5 separate regions of the Homo sapiens genome follow, and all the other regions are linked to region 3. Evidence: promoter capture Hi-C in 16 types of primary human blood cells and fetal thymus (Javierre and others, 2016). All regions are on one chromosome and are shown on one strand. Each heading gives the region's core, a stretch centred on a gene start or on the middle of the fragment in contact. The rest is flanking DNA. Distances are from core to core; before and after follow the strand shown.

What was found. The method cuts DNA at HindIII sites, captures the fragments that hold promoters and counts their contacts. A CHiCAGO score of 5 or more calls a contact.
Region 1: a contact is called between a fragment that was not itself captured here and the fragment with the promoter of ADCY10 in region 3, in 3 of 17 cell types (erythroblasts, M0 macrophages and M1 macrophages). The highest score is 9.3, in erythroblasts.
Region 2: a fragment that was not itself captured here is called in contact with the fragment with the promoter of ADCY10 in region 3 in 2 of 17 cell types (M1 macrophages and erythroblasts); the score reaches 6.1 in M1 macrophages.
Region 4: a fragment that was not itself captured here is called in contact with the fragment with the promoter of ADCY10 in region 3 in 1 of 17 cell types (erythroblasts); the score reaches 5.2 in erythroblasts.
Region 5: a contact is called between a fragment that was not itself captured here and the fragment with the promoter of ADCY10 in region 3, in 2 of 17 cell types (M1 macrophages and erythroblasts). The highest score is 6.3, in M1 macrophages.

Annotation. Positions count from the first base shown.
Region 1 is chr1:167,714,415-167,717,490 of GRCh38, reverse strand. TRP-CGG1-1 (tRNA-Pro (anticodon CGG) 1-1) reads right to left here and starts at 2,766; the gene lies at 2,695-2,766. It overlaps TRP-AGG2-1 (tRNA-Pro (anticodon AGG) 2-1), which reads left to right and starts at 1,932; the gene lies at 1,932-2,003. RefSeq lists silencers at 2,646-2,745, 3,046-3,076. The HindIII fragment of the contact is 8,006 bases long and covers 1-3,076 here.
Region 2 is chr1:167,774,660-167,777,702 of GRCh38, reverse strand. It overlaps MPZL1 (myelin protein zero like 1), which reads right to left. Exons shown (of 6, transcript NM_003953.6): 5 at 1,537-1,639. Among named protein-coding and RNA genes, the nearest start is that of MPZL1, 54 kb to the right of the region's middle. The HindIII fragment of the contact is 3,865 bases long and covers 1-3,043 here.
Region 3 is chr1:167,912,811-167,916,233 of GRCh38, reverse strand. ADCY10 (adenylate cyclase 10) reads left to right here and starts at 2,100. Exons shown (of 33, transcript NM_018417.6): 1 at 2,100-2,258. It also overlaps a transcript of DCAF6 not described here. RefSeq lists enhancers at 1,719-2,395, 2,396-3,072. The HindIII fragment of the contact is 13,833 bases long and covers 1-2,428 here.
Region 4 is chr1:168,064,710-168,068,128 of GRCh38, reverse strand. It overlaps DCAF6 (DDB1 and CUL4 associated factor 6), which reads right to left. Exons shown (of 22, transcript NM_001198956.2): 19 at 2,383-2,539; 20 at 1,664-1,752. Among named protein-coding and RNA genes, the nearest start is that of MIR1255B2, 68 kb to the right of the region's middle. The HindIII fragment of the contact is 9,016 bases long and covers 1-3,419 here.
Region 5 is chr1:167,740,689-167,743,902 of GRCh38, reverse strand. The region is part of intron 1 of MPZL1 (myelin protein zero like 1); the gene reads right to left. Among named protein-coding and RNA genes, the nearest start is that of MPZL1, 20 kb to the right of the region's middle. The HindIII fragment of the contact is 6,033 bases long and covers 1-3,214 here.

The DNA.
Region 1 (3,076 bases), core at 470-2,969, 200 kb after region 3:
AGCAAGAAGTCCAAATGTCCTAATATCTACAACAATATATGCCTTTAAGATAATCACAGTTATGCTTTTACGTATTCACACACTAAAATGTCAATAATTGTCTTCTTTAAATCAACAGAGTAACAAAATTTGTCATGTTGTCTGCTCACCCGTATGTAGGCACAGCTTAGCCTAGCTTTTACATAGGTAAGATCACTATATAAGAAAAACTTAAGAACGGGGTGTTTCTCCTCCTACTTTCTGAGAACATCCTGCTCTGTAACAGAGTAGTTTCCAATAAACTTGCTTCTTTCACCCTGAATTCTTTCCTGCACGAGATCCAAGAACCCTCTCTCCAGGTTCGGTGAAGACCCCTTTTTCCGGCAACAAAAGTACTAAAATGCAGTGAGCCATGATCATGCCACTGCACTCCAGCCCGGGCGACAGAGTGAGACCCTGTATCAAACAAAAAACACCTAAAATTCGTATTGTTAAGGAATTTGAGACAAATTGTAATCATTCAGAATCATTCATTGAGCACCAGCTTCCTTATGATAAGCCTCAATGCTAAGTATTTAAGAATTTAGGGCCAGGCACGGTGGTAATCCCAGCACTTTGGCAGGCCGAGGCAGGTGGATCACGAGGTCAGGAGATCGAGACCATCTTAGCTAACACGGTGAAACCCCGACTCTATTAAAATACAAAAAAAATTAGCCAGGCGTGGTGGCGGGCGCCTGTAGTCCCAGCTACTGGGGTGGCTGAGGCAGGAGAATGGCATGAACCCAGGAGGCGGAGCTTGCAGTGAGCCGAGATCGCGCCACTGCACTCCAGCCTGGGTGACAGAGCTAGACTCTGTCTCAAAAAAAAAAAAAAAAAAAAAAAAAAAAAAAAAAGAAATTAGGCCGGGCGCAGTGGCTCACGCTTGTACTTTGGGAGGCCGAGGAGGGTGGATCAACTGAGGTCAGGAGTTGGAGACCAGCCTGGCCAACATGGTGAAACCCGCCTCTACTAAAAATACAAAAATTAGCTGGGCATGGTGGCAGGTGCCTGTAATCCCAGCTACTCGGGAGGCGGAGAATCGCTTGAACCTGGAGGGCGGAGGGGGCGGAGGTTGCAGTGAGCCGAGATCACACCACTTCTCTCCAGCCTGGCGAAAGAGCGAAGCGAGACAACGTCTCAAAAAAAAAAAAAAAAAAAGAAAGAAAGGAAAAAGAATTTAAAATATAGTTAAGAAGCCATGCTTACTATATCTAATTAAAGATATTGGGACAATCGAACAGCAATCACACAATTGGTTGCCAATTCTACAGTAGAATTTCGTGTTGGTGTAGGTGTCTTGCGCTCTAAGAAGTTACAGTTGGAGGAGATAAGACTGAAACCCAGTTATTTACCACATACTATTGGTTTTGATATGTTAAAGGATCTTTTTCTGGGAAGGTTAGAGTTTGGGATTTGTCCAAAAGCAAACAGGTTTTCCAGCTGAAGAGAACACTTCGAGTAAAAACAGAGATGGGAATTCACAAGGCTAGATAGGTAGGGCTTTGAATATTACAATAAAAAATATCGGCAAGAAACCGAGATTTTAACATTATAGAAAAGTGCGAAAAAGAACGAATGAAACATCCAGAACTCACTCAGTAACGGAGAGAGTCTGGAATCTGCCACAGTGACATTGTCCCACACTAATAGCCATTTATTAGCCATGAATAGAAATACAATTACAATTTTCGAAATAAGAGGTCGATATTATACTGATAGTGACAATTTTGCTGTCTTCTGTGTTACTGATTTTCAAAGAGCAAAACAGAAAAGAAAGAAAATTGAAAACGCGGTATCTATAGAAAGCAAACACAACCCAAAGATCGAATCCTAACATGCGAGCAACCACTTGAGGGCGCAGGACTAAATAGCTATGTGTTCCTTTCTGATGACAGTAAGGTGGAGTTTGTGTCGGCTCGTTGGTCTAGGGGTATGATTCTCGCTTAGGGTGCGAGAGGTCCCGGGTTCAAATCCCGGACGAGCCCTGTTTTGGAGTAAGAATCACTTAAAGGTGAGTTTTTTTGGGGATAGATTACTAAACGTAATAAATACAGGTTGGTCAGAGTAAAACACAAAATTGAGATTTTTGGAAACTTAGAGCACACTCTACATTGAAATACCATTAAAAGGCCTCATTTTGAAAATGTAAAAAGTTTGCTAGTAATGTAGTATTGTACTATGAAAACATTGTCCCTAGCTGTCTATTCCTGGGTGCAGCGCGTGTACAGGGCCATCGGGAGCTCAGTTCTTGGCTGCCTATGGCGTGGTTTAAACTCATCCACGACAGTGCCCCTCATCGGGGGTGGGGATATCTCCTGAGCGCCCCTTTCCTCGGAAATGCTGATTCCCGAACCCCGGGACATGCTAATCCATGACGCCCCCTGCTCGTTTGGAGGAGTTAAAGGCGTGCACAGGATTCCGCACTAGGCGTCTGTTTTTCAAGAGTGTGTGTTTTACATGGTACAAAGCAATTTGAATGCGTTGCCTTTGGGCGTACAGTAACCATATGTTGTATTAATTGAGCTCACATGGTCCCTCGCTTCAAAAAACAAAGGGGATCAACATTCGAGCTCATGGGACCAGTATGTTTTCATTTAAGTTTCTGAATGGAATATGTGGGGAATTAGGGGGAAAAAATCTGTTTTTAAATTTCGGGTGTGGGGTGGGTAAAAGCCTGGGCTCGTCCGGGATTTGAACCCGGGACCTCTCGCACCCGAAGCGAGAATCATACCCCTAGACCAACGAGCCGCTCTCGGCAAGGGCACTCCCAGAGCTTCCCTTCAGCCTTGTTCCGCCTCTCACCTCGTGTTCCGAGCAACCACGACCTGCGACCCTTATACTGCGTGTCCTCTGATTCCCTAAGCCTCGGGTCCGGAGCGCTTACTGCCCCACAGCGTGGAGGAGCAGGGAGGGACCGGCTTTTGCCTGGTCCGGCCGTTCCAACCCCCCATCGCCGGCGTGGCCTCCACGTTCGCACGCGCTCCCGGAAGCCGCCTTCCGGCTTACGGGCTCGCCCCGGCTGTTCCACTCGCAGTGTTGGCGGGCGCCCGGGAGCCCG
Region 2 (3,043 bases), core at 501-3,000, 140 kb after region 3:
GGTAGTTCTTCCCCTGGTTTCAGAGAGTGTTCTCCTATGTGTATACAACTCTGTAATCAGACAAAGACTCAAGGGGACCCCGCTCCAAATCTCTGAAGTGCTCGTGCTCATCCTAGCACGCTCTCTCTATGGTTCCTTCTTTGGTACTCAGCCTCATAAATCTTAGCCTCCTTGACCTCCCCAAATTCTGATTTCCGCCTTCTCAATTGAGTGAGACAGCTGGGCCCAGTTTCCATTTTCCCCACCTACACTGCAGTGTGGAAACTGCTTCAAGGCAGTACACTGGGGCAATAACACGGCTCACATTGTCTGTTTCCTTTCTTTTGGGGATGACAGTGCTGCATAATTTGTGTTCCACTGTCTTGAAAACCACAGTTTCTTTTTCTTTTTTCTGGTTTGTTTTCAGCAAAAAAGCAACTTCCATAGTGCTTCAAGGGCGGAATAAAAATGTTCCAATGCTTTTTTAGATGCTATGCCTATGTGTATGTAACTTTCATGTCTTCATTTACAACCATATTCCTGTTCACAACCCAAATTAGTAGACTGAGGTATCTGACATATATTATGTAATGTGAGAGAGAGACAGACAGATAGAACAGGAACAAGTAATGAGCCTGATGCTGTGGTAGAGAACATGCTATCTAGACACCTGGGTTCTAGCCCCAGTTCTGTCACTAACTGGGTGTGTGCTTTTAGTAATTTAACATCACAATGCCTTAGTTTCCTCACCACATATAACAACTATGGAATAAGACTATGGGTACTTTTCCCACAAAACACTGTTACTCTCTTTATTTCCTCTTAAATCCATTCCCACCAGCTAACACCTTTTTAGGACAAAGCTATAACTGGCCAAATTCTTTAGCATGCTTTCTACCCCAGAAAAATCAAACTGAACTAAGCTATGGAATTTTTGCCAAGCCACAGTTATAATTAAAATACTACAGCCAAAACACACAAAGCTAGATTATATGCTAACTTCCAAATAAAACCTGTTTCTCTTCTGTACTTTCTACAAGTAGAAACCAAAACCATTCCTTGTTCATCAAGCCTATTAATTATTCAGATAAATGCTTACTTTCCATTTTTTCTAAAGAATCCACAGAAAATAATTTTGGTTTTATTATCAATACTAAGAATACCAACTTTTCCTTGCTAATTTCTTATCTTAGAGTACCTCAATACAGAAAGAATCTCCTTCATTAGATTCATTTCCTTGGGCAATTAAAGAATCTTTTACTGACAAAGCCATTTCCTAATTCTGCTTGAGGCAAGGAAGCTACATGGTTAGTAAACAATTTATGTTATTGGTGGTTTCATGGAAATCTTTACTCAAGCAGATTCTTCACCACATATTTTCCTGTGGTCTTCCTAGGCCAGCCCTTTAATTCCTCACTCCCACTCTCTCTTTGTCTCTGTCTGTCTGTCTCTGTCTCTGTCTCTCATAGCTCAGTATTCTTTTCCACACCCAAGGAAGTGACAGAGCACCAAGCTGTAGGGAACAGTGCAGTGGGCAGAATCGCAATCAGCCATTACCTGGTGAGATCCAGAAGGCAGACTCTTTACAAGACCCTCAGTGTCGGAGGGGGACTTCCGAGGAGCCTGCTTAACTGGTGACAAACTCTCTGATGTACTGCAGCTGATGAATTGGCAATTTGAAGAACAAATGTAAAAAATAATAATAATAAATAAATAGAAACAAAAATATAGAAATGCAACTGACGGCAAGATGAAGCAACAGATATATAAAAACAAAAGACAACATAACAATGGGTGTCAAAATGATCACATGTTTTTAAACTATTTTCTATACCTGACACTCACTCATTCTTCTAAGTCAATGAACTCATCACTGGGGGAGGCACAGAAACAAATATGGTACAACCTCTTCAACCCAGTTTACAAAAATCATATTGGAATTCTAGTTACAATACACATTTATCCTTTTGCTGTTTGTCTTTTCCCCCTGCCATCAACCCTCCTTTGGGATAAAGGTTTAAGGGAACAAGCTCTATGGTACCTTTTATTAGCTTAATGGCAATTCACTTTTGTTATAATCAAAGGCAAACCTCTTCTGAATGTATGTTTTAAATTACAGATATATATCCAGGCAAGTCTTGGCTTATCTTGTTCTCTCCATATTTTTATTCCCTACCAATACCACAATCAAATCCCCCCAAAAACTCAGGAAGTCATGAATGAGAAATTAGGGAATGCCAGGTCACACAGGCTGAACCTTTTCACGGTGACAGTAGTCTTTAACAACAAGCACTATCTCATAAATGAATCAGGGAAAGTGAATGCCAGGAAGTAAGAAAGCTGGGGTACAGCGTAGGGATTTTCCAATGAGATGTGTCATCAGTACAGCTTAAAGCCTTTTGATATATACTTTTAAAACTTAGGAGTTTGGGGAGAATCACATTTAAAGTGTCATTACTAAGACCAAAGCATACCATGCATTCTGCAAACTGTTCCTTCTGTGAAATGGGAGGCTACATGCTCTGAACCAAAATGGTTTAATTATTCTAATACATAATCAGTCAGGATCTTAAATATTGATAACATAATACATATATGAAAAAAGAAAACTAATGCACACACACACATACACAATGGCATTTTACATGAAGAGCACAAATATTCAGATGTGCATAAAAACTCTATGTAACTTCACAATCCAATTTCATCCAGATAGTATGCTCAACATGTTTCCAATACAAACATGTGACATATTCATGGACAAATCATAATAGCTGTTGGGTTAGCTCAGAGCTAGCTGGTTAGTCATCAACAAGGGAGAGGGGCTGAATACATACACAGGAATATTAACAGTAATGGGCAATGTGATTAGTTACCATGTGTCTAGTGGGAGTGGAAGAGGAGACCCAGCCCTGTTATAGTCCCAATGTGTCTTCTATGTCAGCTTTTCTTAAGAAGTGGAAGATAAGCAGGATCTGATCCCAGCACACCAAGGTAGAAAAGGTAGAGGAGGAGGAAAAAAACCAAGGTAAGAAGAACAGCAGCATTCATGATGCCATGCAGG
Region 3 (3,423 bases), core at 851-3,350:
ACTCCCATCTCAAAAAGTAACAATATGTATCCTGTCAAAAACTCTCATTGCCACTTGGAACACATAGCCTAGTTATCAGTTTCACAACTATTCTCAAAGACTTAGTAAGAATATATTAGAAGTCCTTACTATCAATGCAGTTACTGAACTCCGTAAAAATAATTTCCACAGTGGTGCAAATCGATTAGTATAGTTGAGTTGAATTCTTTATCACAGCTTTTTGACAGGTCTTTATTGATAGCTTCACTATGTAAGTTTTCTTTCTCAATGCCAAGTCTGACAGCCCTGGGTTTCAACTCAACTCTGCCACACATTAACTGTGAGACTTTGTTAACCTCTGTCTCTGACCTTTAATATTTTCAAGAGCAAAATGAGGATAATCATAGTACTGACTTCATAGGATTGTTCTAAAGATTGAGATAAGGTTTTAACACAGTGCCTGGTCCACAGTAAATATTGAAGATATGGAAAGTTCAGGAAACGGGCCAGGCGCGGTGGTGCATGCCTGAAATCCCAGCACTTTGAGAGGCCGAGGCAGGTGGATCACCTGAGGTCAGGAGTTCGCGACAAGACTGACTAACATGGTGAAACCGCATCTCTACTAAATACAAAAAAATTAGCTGGGTATGGTGGCACATGCCTGTAATCCGAGCTACTTGGGAGGCTGAGACAGGAGAATCACTTGAACCAGGGAGGTGGAGGTTGCAGTGAGCTGAGATCACGCCATTGCACTCCAGCCTGGGCAACAAGAAGAAAGTTCAGAAAATGGTAATCTTATTAATTGAAGGTAGACCCAGAAAGTACTTTTCTTTAAGTACTTTAAAGGAAGTTTTAATTTTACTACAAAAAGGATATACTGTGTTAACCTATTTGCACGGTTTCTGAACTAATAACTTTATAGCAGAAAAGAAGCTGCTTGGGGTAGAGGAGTAGTAGGTGGGGTGGAGAATGCTCAATAAGAGATAAATTCTTTAGTCTTTTTTTGTGGTATGGCATCTCTTTTAAGGAAACTTTGATCCAAGGTATGTCAGTGCTGCTGTTTCCTCATAGTAAATATTTTCTTTTTTAACTTATAAAATCATAGCGAAAGGTTGAATGTTAATGAGGATGGACCTCAAAGCTAAGGTTCCTTTCTGTAAAACAAAGGTCTCTACTGGAGCCTGTTTATATAATGAAGCAGAAATAGAAAACACTGGCATTTATTAAGAATAGCTCTCCCTAAGGGGATTGTTTAATTAAATGAGGTATGATTCTAATTATAAGACTGGTTTCCACAACTCACACCAGAAAATTCACTCAATGAACATAATTAAATGACCCTCTTGTTTTCCTCCCTAAGACAACTGTGTTTTACAACATTTGGAAGTACACAGTAAACAATTACAGAGCGGGGCTTTATAGGAGAACATGTACAGCTTTTTAAATAAGACTTTTTAAATTCCAATTTTAAAAGCTGTGCCCCTAAATGATAATTGTGGTTGTGATGATATACATAAGAACATTTAGAAAATCAACACATGATTTAAGCTGTTAGAAAACACACCAGCCTCTTAAAATACATTTTTCCAGTGTCACATCAGATAAAGAAAACTCAAATCCAGTGCCCATTGGATTTCAAGTTATCTTTGGGATAAATTTGATTAAAAGCGTGCACTTGACCAGTCAGAAAGGGCAGGTATATAATTCTTCAAACAAAAATTTACCTCACAAATATATCTGAAGGTAAGTATTGAATTTATTATAACTGGTAAATTTCATAGTCCTGGTACAAGCTGTAACCACTATTGACTAAAATTAGGTGTTTGCTTGCTCTGGAGATACTTCTGATGATCACCTACCAACTATTGCCTAATTTCAACCATCCTCCACATGGCCAAGGGAAGAATTGTGTAAACTACTCTGGGGTCATGTCAGTCTCCCCTGACCCTTGCCTCAAATGTGCGGATAAGAGAACCTGAAACAGCCAGTCCTTCCTTGTACAGTAGTAGGCCACTCAGGTTGGTGGGGGAGGGGACGGCAGTGCCACCCAATCAGAAACATGGTCGGTGCCCGTGGAACAATGAGCTACTGATGAGGGTGTGGCCTGGAAAACGGCTTTTAGACAAAACTGTCATTTTATGGGTCAGCTATAGACAGACATGGCGCTTCAGCTGTCTTCAGAATAATGTCACCCGGCCTCCTCTCCTGTCTTCTGCAGTCTTAAAAGACCTAGTCCCTAACTGAGGTCTGGCTTTTCCTCAGCCCTGGATGAAGTGGAGGTATGTGGAAGTAAGAGTCTCAGCAGAAAGATTGATTGCAGAGCTGAAGATGAGGGCGACCGTCAGGAAAGAAGACAGCTATTGCAGAGGAGTGGGAAGCCTGGGGCTAGAAGTCAGGGTTCAAGTTTGTGTATACCTCTGTGTCAGTCCCTTACATGAGCTTAGAAGCTTGAAGGCTTAAATATTGCCTCACCTTCTCAACCTGGATGCTCTGTCTTTCTAGCTTACTTTCTTTATTTGCCTCTTTTCTGCAGTTTCTCACGTGATATCCTCCTTTTTATCAGTCAACAACTACCAAGTGCCTACCTCTTGAAGGGGGCTCTGGCAAGGTGCTGTGGAGTAAACAAAGATATGTAGAAGATGGTTCCAAACGGGGAGCTTACAATTCAGATGAAGACAAAATAGAAGCAATTCAAAAGATAATCAAGGATATTTGTATGGGAAATAAGCCACTTAAGTGTAGACATTAAGAGCCACAATAGCTCAGAAGAAAAATTACCATGGCTAGAGTAGGCAAGCAAGCTTTCATGACAGGTAACACTGTGCCTTTAAGTTCAGAGTATCTCCCTCTTTGGACTCGTGAAACCTGACTTTACATGTAGGTGAAAAGTTGAATATAAAATCTATTAGGAAATTCTAGAGGAGAGATTTAGAGAAACTGATGAATATAATCGAACCCTAATTTCTCTTTTCATTTTTGGGTACTACTGAGTTTTCTTTACTCACACTCCGCATTCAGGAATCCTTCTTGGTTTATCTTTCGGGCCTCATTCGCCTGCTTGCCTTTTGACTCAGGTATCCTCATTTCTCATTCCAAGGTGCTTCCGCGCTTTGTCAGTACCCATGCTGTTCATGCTGTATTCTTGATGTGATAGAATTGGCTGAACAGTTGATAAGGGTACCATCAACATGCATTGAAAGTGCTCTTAAATTAAACCTACATCTTTTGTCTAGGTCATATACATCCCCAAAGTGCTATAAAGCGTATACAAATGGGATATAGCATGATATAGTAGAAACAACAGGGACTTTCAAGTCCCACAGACCTGGATATTCCAGCTTTATAACCCAGAGCAAGTTAATACCTCTGTGCTTCAGTTTTCATATCTATAGAAATCAGGTCTACTTCATAGCGCTGTTTGGATGATTAAATGAGGCAACCTAT
Region 4 (3,419 bases), core at 639-3,138, 150 kb before region 3:
CAAAGGTCAAATTTTGAGGCTACTTAAAACATTTAAGAATTTAATTTAGCTTTTACTTGCAATTTGCTTCTCAGAGCCATTTACTTTGTTGGCTCCTTGTTTTCCCTATAGGAGAACTGATAACTTTAGTGACGAAATACAGTTAAATTATTATCCATGGGCCACTTGAATCCCTTGAAAAGATGTTACCTTGACTGAGGCAGAGTAGTCTTGGAAAATAAATTTTTGGGCAAGGGTTAACAAGAAACTGAGCCTTAAGTACCAAGAATAGGATTACTTGAATACTCGTGAACACCCAGAGATGCAATATGTAACCATGAGCAAAGGAAAAAAGTGGAAAAGCAAAAAACATGGCAAAGGAAAAAAAGGATGAAAGAAAGAGTATGAGAGGAAGAGAAAGATGCTACTCTGATCAACAGTTCCCCAATACTGAAATAATAAATTCCCAACTCATCAGGGTGCCCCACAGGGCCCTTCACAATCTTACCCTCACCTAACCGTTTAGTTTGATTAAGCTACTTTTGTGCATGTACTCTAGGGTTCCAGGCACACTGATGGTTCATTTACCCTCTCATGCTTTGGCACATGCTGATCCTTCTGTCTTAAATGCTGCTTTGCTCCCTGTCTGCCTGGTGAACTATTCTCAGACTTCTGTCCAATTCTTATTTCTTCTGTGAAGACCTCTCCATCCTATCTACCCCATTTACAAACAGCTGTTCCTCTCTGTGGGCTTCCAAAACACTATGTGTATACCTCTGACTGACACAGACCCCACTACAGTATGTTCTAGCTGTTTACATTGTCTTTCCCACTAAACTCTGAGGGTAGGGCCTTATCTTTTTTACACCCAGCATTATGTATACAATACATCAACTGTTTTATAAATGCCTATTCAATGAGTGAAAGTATACATGGGAATTGTGCTACGAACAGTCAGTGTTAGTCTAGAGTAGTGGTTTTCCAACTTACTAACATTTTTAGCAATGGATTCTCATTTTCATAAGAAATAGTATATGAGAACCCACAAATAAAAACCCTGGTTGAAGTTGGGGAGGAAAGGCCCAGAGTAATGCCTTCCTATTATCCACCTTCCCTCTCCCATCCCAGAAGAAATCCAGAGCTCCAAAGAACTCAGGCTGAAAATACTGTTTTAACAGGCTTAAAAAAATCTTAAAATATAATGATAAAGGAAAAGATTCTTCACTCATTTGTTCTGCTATATACTAATCCTGAAAAACAAAGTTCCATTTCCTTTTTAAGAAAAACTCAAAATGGAAAAATAGCTGTACTAAAAATGGAAAAATTGCTAGGCTTTTGGAGAAACAGTTATAATAAAATTATTTTCTTAAAAGGACAGATTTTTTTGTGTGTGATTCTTTATTGTAATAACATGAATACTCAAACCTGTTTTTCTTAAACTACTATACACCTAATCTGGTGTTACCGATGATGAATATTATAATTAGTAAGCTACTATTTAGATTTTACCTCCCTAGTATTATAGACATCCTTTTATCTTAATTTTTCTTTTTCTTAAAATTTGACCTCCTTAACTGCATTAACTTGTTTCATGTTAGCAACTAATAACTTTTAATTTTTCTTAGGGAAGCATTTTAGGAACAAATTGAAATATGGTCTATAGTAAGTACAATAAAAATCTTACTTCATCAGCAAGTTTTCGGTTAAAAATCCTTGACTCTTCTAATGGTGACCAGATCTTTATGTCATAATCTATGCCAGATGAGGCTAAAACTAGAAATAAAATTTATATATTAATATGAAGCCTAGAAACATGCAATTCAGGATATGCTTATATTATGCATATATGTATATATAGCAAAACTAACCTTGAACAGCAATTGTACACTATATATTTAACTGTTAATTGAAAATATTATTTTGACAATTTGCTAAATGTTATCCTAGAACGTAATTTTAATACCATGTTGAAGTCACTCAGATTCATTGTTGAAGTCACTTATTCATTGTTCTTTTATGAGATATGTGGGCAATTTCAAAAAGAAGACGAGCAATGCTCTTTTGTTCTGATAAATTAATTCAGCTATGTGAAGACTAAAAATGACTGGATGTTCCATTTGGATATACAATAAAAAGTTCAGTCACACCAAACCTCTTACAGCTTGTAAAACTTAGAAGAAATATTGGGAGAATAAACTTTTTAACCTATTTTCTTTTACTTTGTGCAAAAAGCAGATTACAGGTGTGTTTGAAGTGCAAGTTCAGCTGTAATTGACTCTACTGCTGCCTAGTCAGATAGTTTGGATTATTCTTATAATATTAACAATTAAAAAAGAATAATTTTGTATGACTGATGAGTCATACAAATAATTTCTAGCCCTCGTCCTAGAAAAGATATCTTACTTGGGTCAAACGGATGTGGCTGCAGGCAGTTTACCACATGATTATCAGCTTCCAGAAGCATCAAATGCTCAGCAGTGTGCCGATCCCAGATGAAAATGTGGCCACAGTCAGAACCACTCATTACAAAGTTAGCACCCCAGAAATTGGCTTCTTTTATCTAAGGGTTAAAAAAAATTATTTAAAAATTCAAATCAAAGTTATTAAAACAAAGATTTATGCTACTCTTACATTTTTTTATTTGTTTTAATTCTTACATTTTTTAAAAAACTGGCTTAGAAAATAGTAAAATTAAAAATTGATGCTGGGCGCAGTGGCTCACACCTGTAATCCCAGCACTTTGGGAGGCCAAGGCAGGAGGACTGCCTGAGCTGAGGAGTTTGAGACCAGCCTGGGCAATATAGTGAGATCCCCTATCTATAAAAAAAAAAACTGACAAAAATCTGTCTTCTAGCTTCTTTAAATTATGATAGGCATTCATCAGCAAGGGTAAGATGGCAGTAAGTAATAGAAAATCCCCCCTAAGAAGAGGGACTTTGCTTTGTTCAATACTATATTTACAGCACCTGAAATGGTACTTGGGATACAATAGGTGCTTAATTATTAACTGCTAAATGAAAGAATAGGATTTCTGGGTTTTGGGCAGTATAATGGCAATTTACATATATGTTGCTGAACTTTCCAAAAATTGTACCAATTTAGCTTTATAAGACAATGAAATAATTCACAGATAAAAGAAATTGTCTTTTGTATTTTGCTTTAGACCCAAAGAATAGAAAGAAGATCATTAGCTATTATAAGCTAACACAATTGAGAAAGATACAAACATACTTAATTTTATGAAGCAGAATCAAAGGCATATGATATACTGGAATAGTTATAATGACATTTTTAAATGAATGCACATGAATGAAACATCAAAAATCTTTGTATTTCAAACAAGGATTTTAAAAAATTTTAACTGCAGCTGCTACTTTGCCATTTTTGGTGCTCTCACAAAAGAGGGGAGACAATTTTATTGTTATCTGAGCTACTGTTAA
Region 5 (3,214 bases), core at 116-2,615, 170 kb after region 3:
AAGAAATAAAGGGCATCCAAATCAGTAAAGAGGAAGTCAAACTGTTGTTGTTTGCTGATGATAAGACTGTTTACCTAGAAAACCCTAAAGACTCCTCCAGAAAGCTCCCAGAACTGATAAAAGAATTCAGCAGTTTCCAGATGCAAAATTAATGTAAACAAATCAGTAGCTCTTCTATACACCAACAGCAACCAAGCTGAGAATCAAATCAAGAACTCAACCCCTTCTACAATAGCTGCAAAAAAAGTAAAACAAAATACTTAGGAATATACCTAACCAAGGAGGTGAAACACTTCTACAAGGAAAACTACAGAACACTGCTGAAAGAAATCACAGATGACATAAACAAAAGGAAACACATCCCATGCTCACGGATAGGAAGAATTAATATTGCGAAGGCCAGGCGCGGTGGCTCACGCCTGTAATCTCAGTACTTTGGGAGGCCGAGGCGGGAGGGTCACGAGGTCAAGAGATCGAGACCAGCCTGGCTAACATGGTGAAACCCCGTCTCTACTAAAAATACAAAAATTAGCTGGGCGTGATGTGCGCCTGTAGTCCCAGCTACTTGGGAGGCTGAGGCAGGAGAATTGCTTGAACCCAGGAGGCAGAGGTTGCAGTCAGGCAAGATCACGCCATTGCAATCCAGCCTGGCGACAGAGCGAGACTCTGTCTCGAAGAAAAAAAAAAAGTGAAAATGATGATACTGCCAAAAGTAATCTACAAATTCAACGCAATTCCCATCAAAATACCACCATCAGTTTTCACAGAACTAGAAAAAACAATCCTAAAATTCATATGGAACCAAAAAAGAGCCTGCATACAATCTGGAGACATCACATTACCTGATTTCAAACCATACTATAAGGCCACAGTCATCAAAGCAGCCTGGTACTGTAATAAAAATAGGCACATAGACCAAAGGAACAAAATAGAGAACCCAAAAATAAACCCAAATACTTACAGCCTACTGATCATTGACAAAGCAAACAAAAACATCAAGTGGGGAAAGGACACCCTATTCAACAACTGGTGCTGGGATAATTGGCTAGCCACATGTAGGAGAATGAAACTGGATCCTCATCTCTCACCTTATACAAAAATCAACTCAAGATAGATCAAGGACTTAAATCTAAGACCTGAAACTATAAAAATTCTAGAAGAGAACATTGGAAAAACCCTTCTAGACATTAGCTTACGCAAAGACTTCATGACCAAGACCCAAAAGCAAATGCAACAAAAACAAAGATAAATAGCTGGGACTTAAACTAAAGAGCTTTTGTGTGGCAAAAGGAACAGTCAGCAGAGTAAACAGACAACCCACAGAGTGAGAGAAAATCTTCACAATCCATTCCAAAATAAACTATAGTTCCTATTCTGATTATGGTAGACTGATGATAGACTATGGACTCCTTAAGAAATTCCCTCAGGCACTCCATATATATTTATTTTAAAAGTTGGCAAGTATCTTTTTTATTTGAAAGATACTATTAAGGTATCTGCCCATAATATAGTTAGGCGATACACTCTTATACTTGTTATATATTTATATGCCGGGTTTTTGATATTATGGAAAACAAGAACAATTTGATAAGATCAAAGATTTTTTTTTCTTTTTTTTGTCTTGCTCTGTCACCCAGGCTGAAGTGCAGTGGCATGATCTCTGCTCACTGCAACCTCCGCCTCCCAGGTTAAAGTGATTCTCCTGCCTCAACCTCCCGAGTAGCTGGGACTACAGGTGAGGGCCACCACGCCTGGCTAATTTTTCTATTTTTAGTAGAGACGGGGTTTTGCCATGTTGGCCAGGCTGGTCTCAAACTCCTGACCTCAGGTGATACACTTGCCTTGACCTCCCAACAAGGGTTTTTTTCTGGGGGCAGGGTCTCACTTTGTCACCCAGGCTGGAGTGCAGTGGCATGATCATGGCTCACTTCACCCTCAACCTCCCAGGTGCAAGCAATCTTCCCACTTCAGCCTCCTGAGTAGCTGGGACTACAGGTGTGAGCCATCAGGCCCAGCTAACTTTTATATTTTTTGTAGAGACAGGGTTTCACCATGTTGCCCAGGCCGGTCTTGAACTGCTGAGCTCAAGTGATCCTCCTGCCTTGACCTCCCAAAGTGCTGGGATTATCGGCATGAGCCACAGTGCCCAGCCAAGACTAAAGGGTTTTAAACAACAAAATGACAGCACCTGATGTAAAATAGTTCTTGCTGCTATGTAGAAAATGGAGTGGAGGGGAATACGGACTGAAATTGGGAAAGCAGTTAAGAAGTGACTGCAGGCCAGGCACAGTGGCTCATGCCTGTAATCCCAACACTTTGGGAGGCTGAGGCGAGCAGATCACTTGAGGTCAGGAATTCAAGACTAGCCTGGTCAACATGGTGAAATCCAGCTCTACTAAAAATACAAAAATTAGCCAGGCGTGGTGGCGTGTGCCTGTAATTCCAGCTACTCAGGAGGCTGAGGCACAAGAATTGCTGGAATCTGGGAGGCGGAGGTTGCAGTGAGCTGAGATCATGCCACAGCACGCCTGGGTGACAAGTGAGACCTTGTCAGGAAAAAAAAAAAAAAAAAGTGACTGCAGGCTAGACGTGGTGACTCATGCCTGTAATCCCAGCACTTTGGGAGGCTGAGGCAGGAGGATCACTTGAGCCCAAGAGGTCAAGACCAGCCTGGACAACATAGCGAAACCCCCATCTCTAAAAAAAAAAAAAAAAAAAATTAGCCAGGCGTGGTGGCACATGCCTACAGTCCCAGCTACTTAGGAGGCTGAGGCAGCAGGATTGCTTGAGCCCAAGAGTTCAAGGCTGCAGTAAGCCGTGATTACACTACTGCACTTGAGTCTGGGTGACAGAGCAAGACTGTCTCAAAACAAAAACCAAAGAAGTGACTGCAGTAATTCTGGTGCTGTGTACTGCAGCCATGACCTAGACTAGAGGCAAGGAGATGGTGAGAGAAAGGGATGACATACAGGACTTCTTGCTATTAGATTGGACATGGGAGTGAAGAGAAGGGATGAATGGAGAATAACTCCTGGGTTTCTAGCTTGAGCAACTGGATAGATTTAACTGGAGAGAAGGAATAGAAAGCAACCTGCCATTTTGGAAATGTTAAGTTTGCAATGTCAATGAGACCTTGAGACCTCTAAATGGAGTTAAGCAGGTAACCGGATATGCAGGTCTGATGTTCAGAGAGGTCTGAATTGTATATAAATTT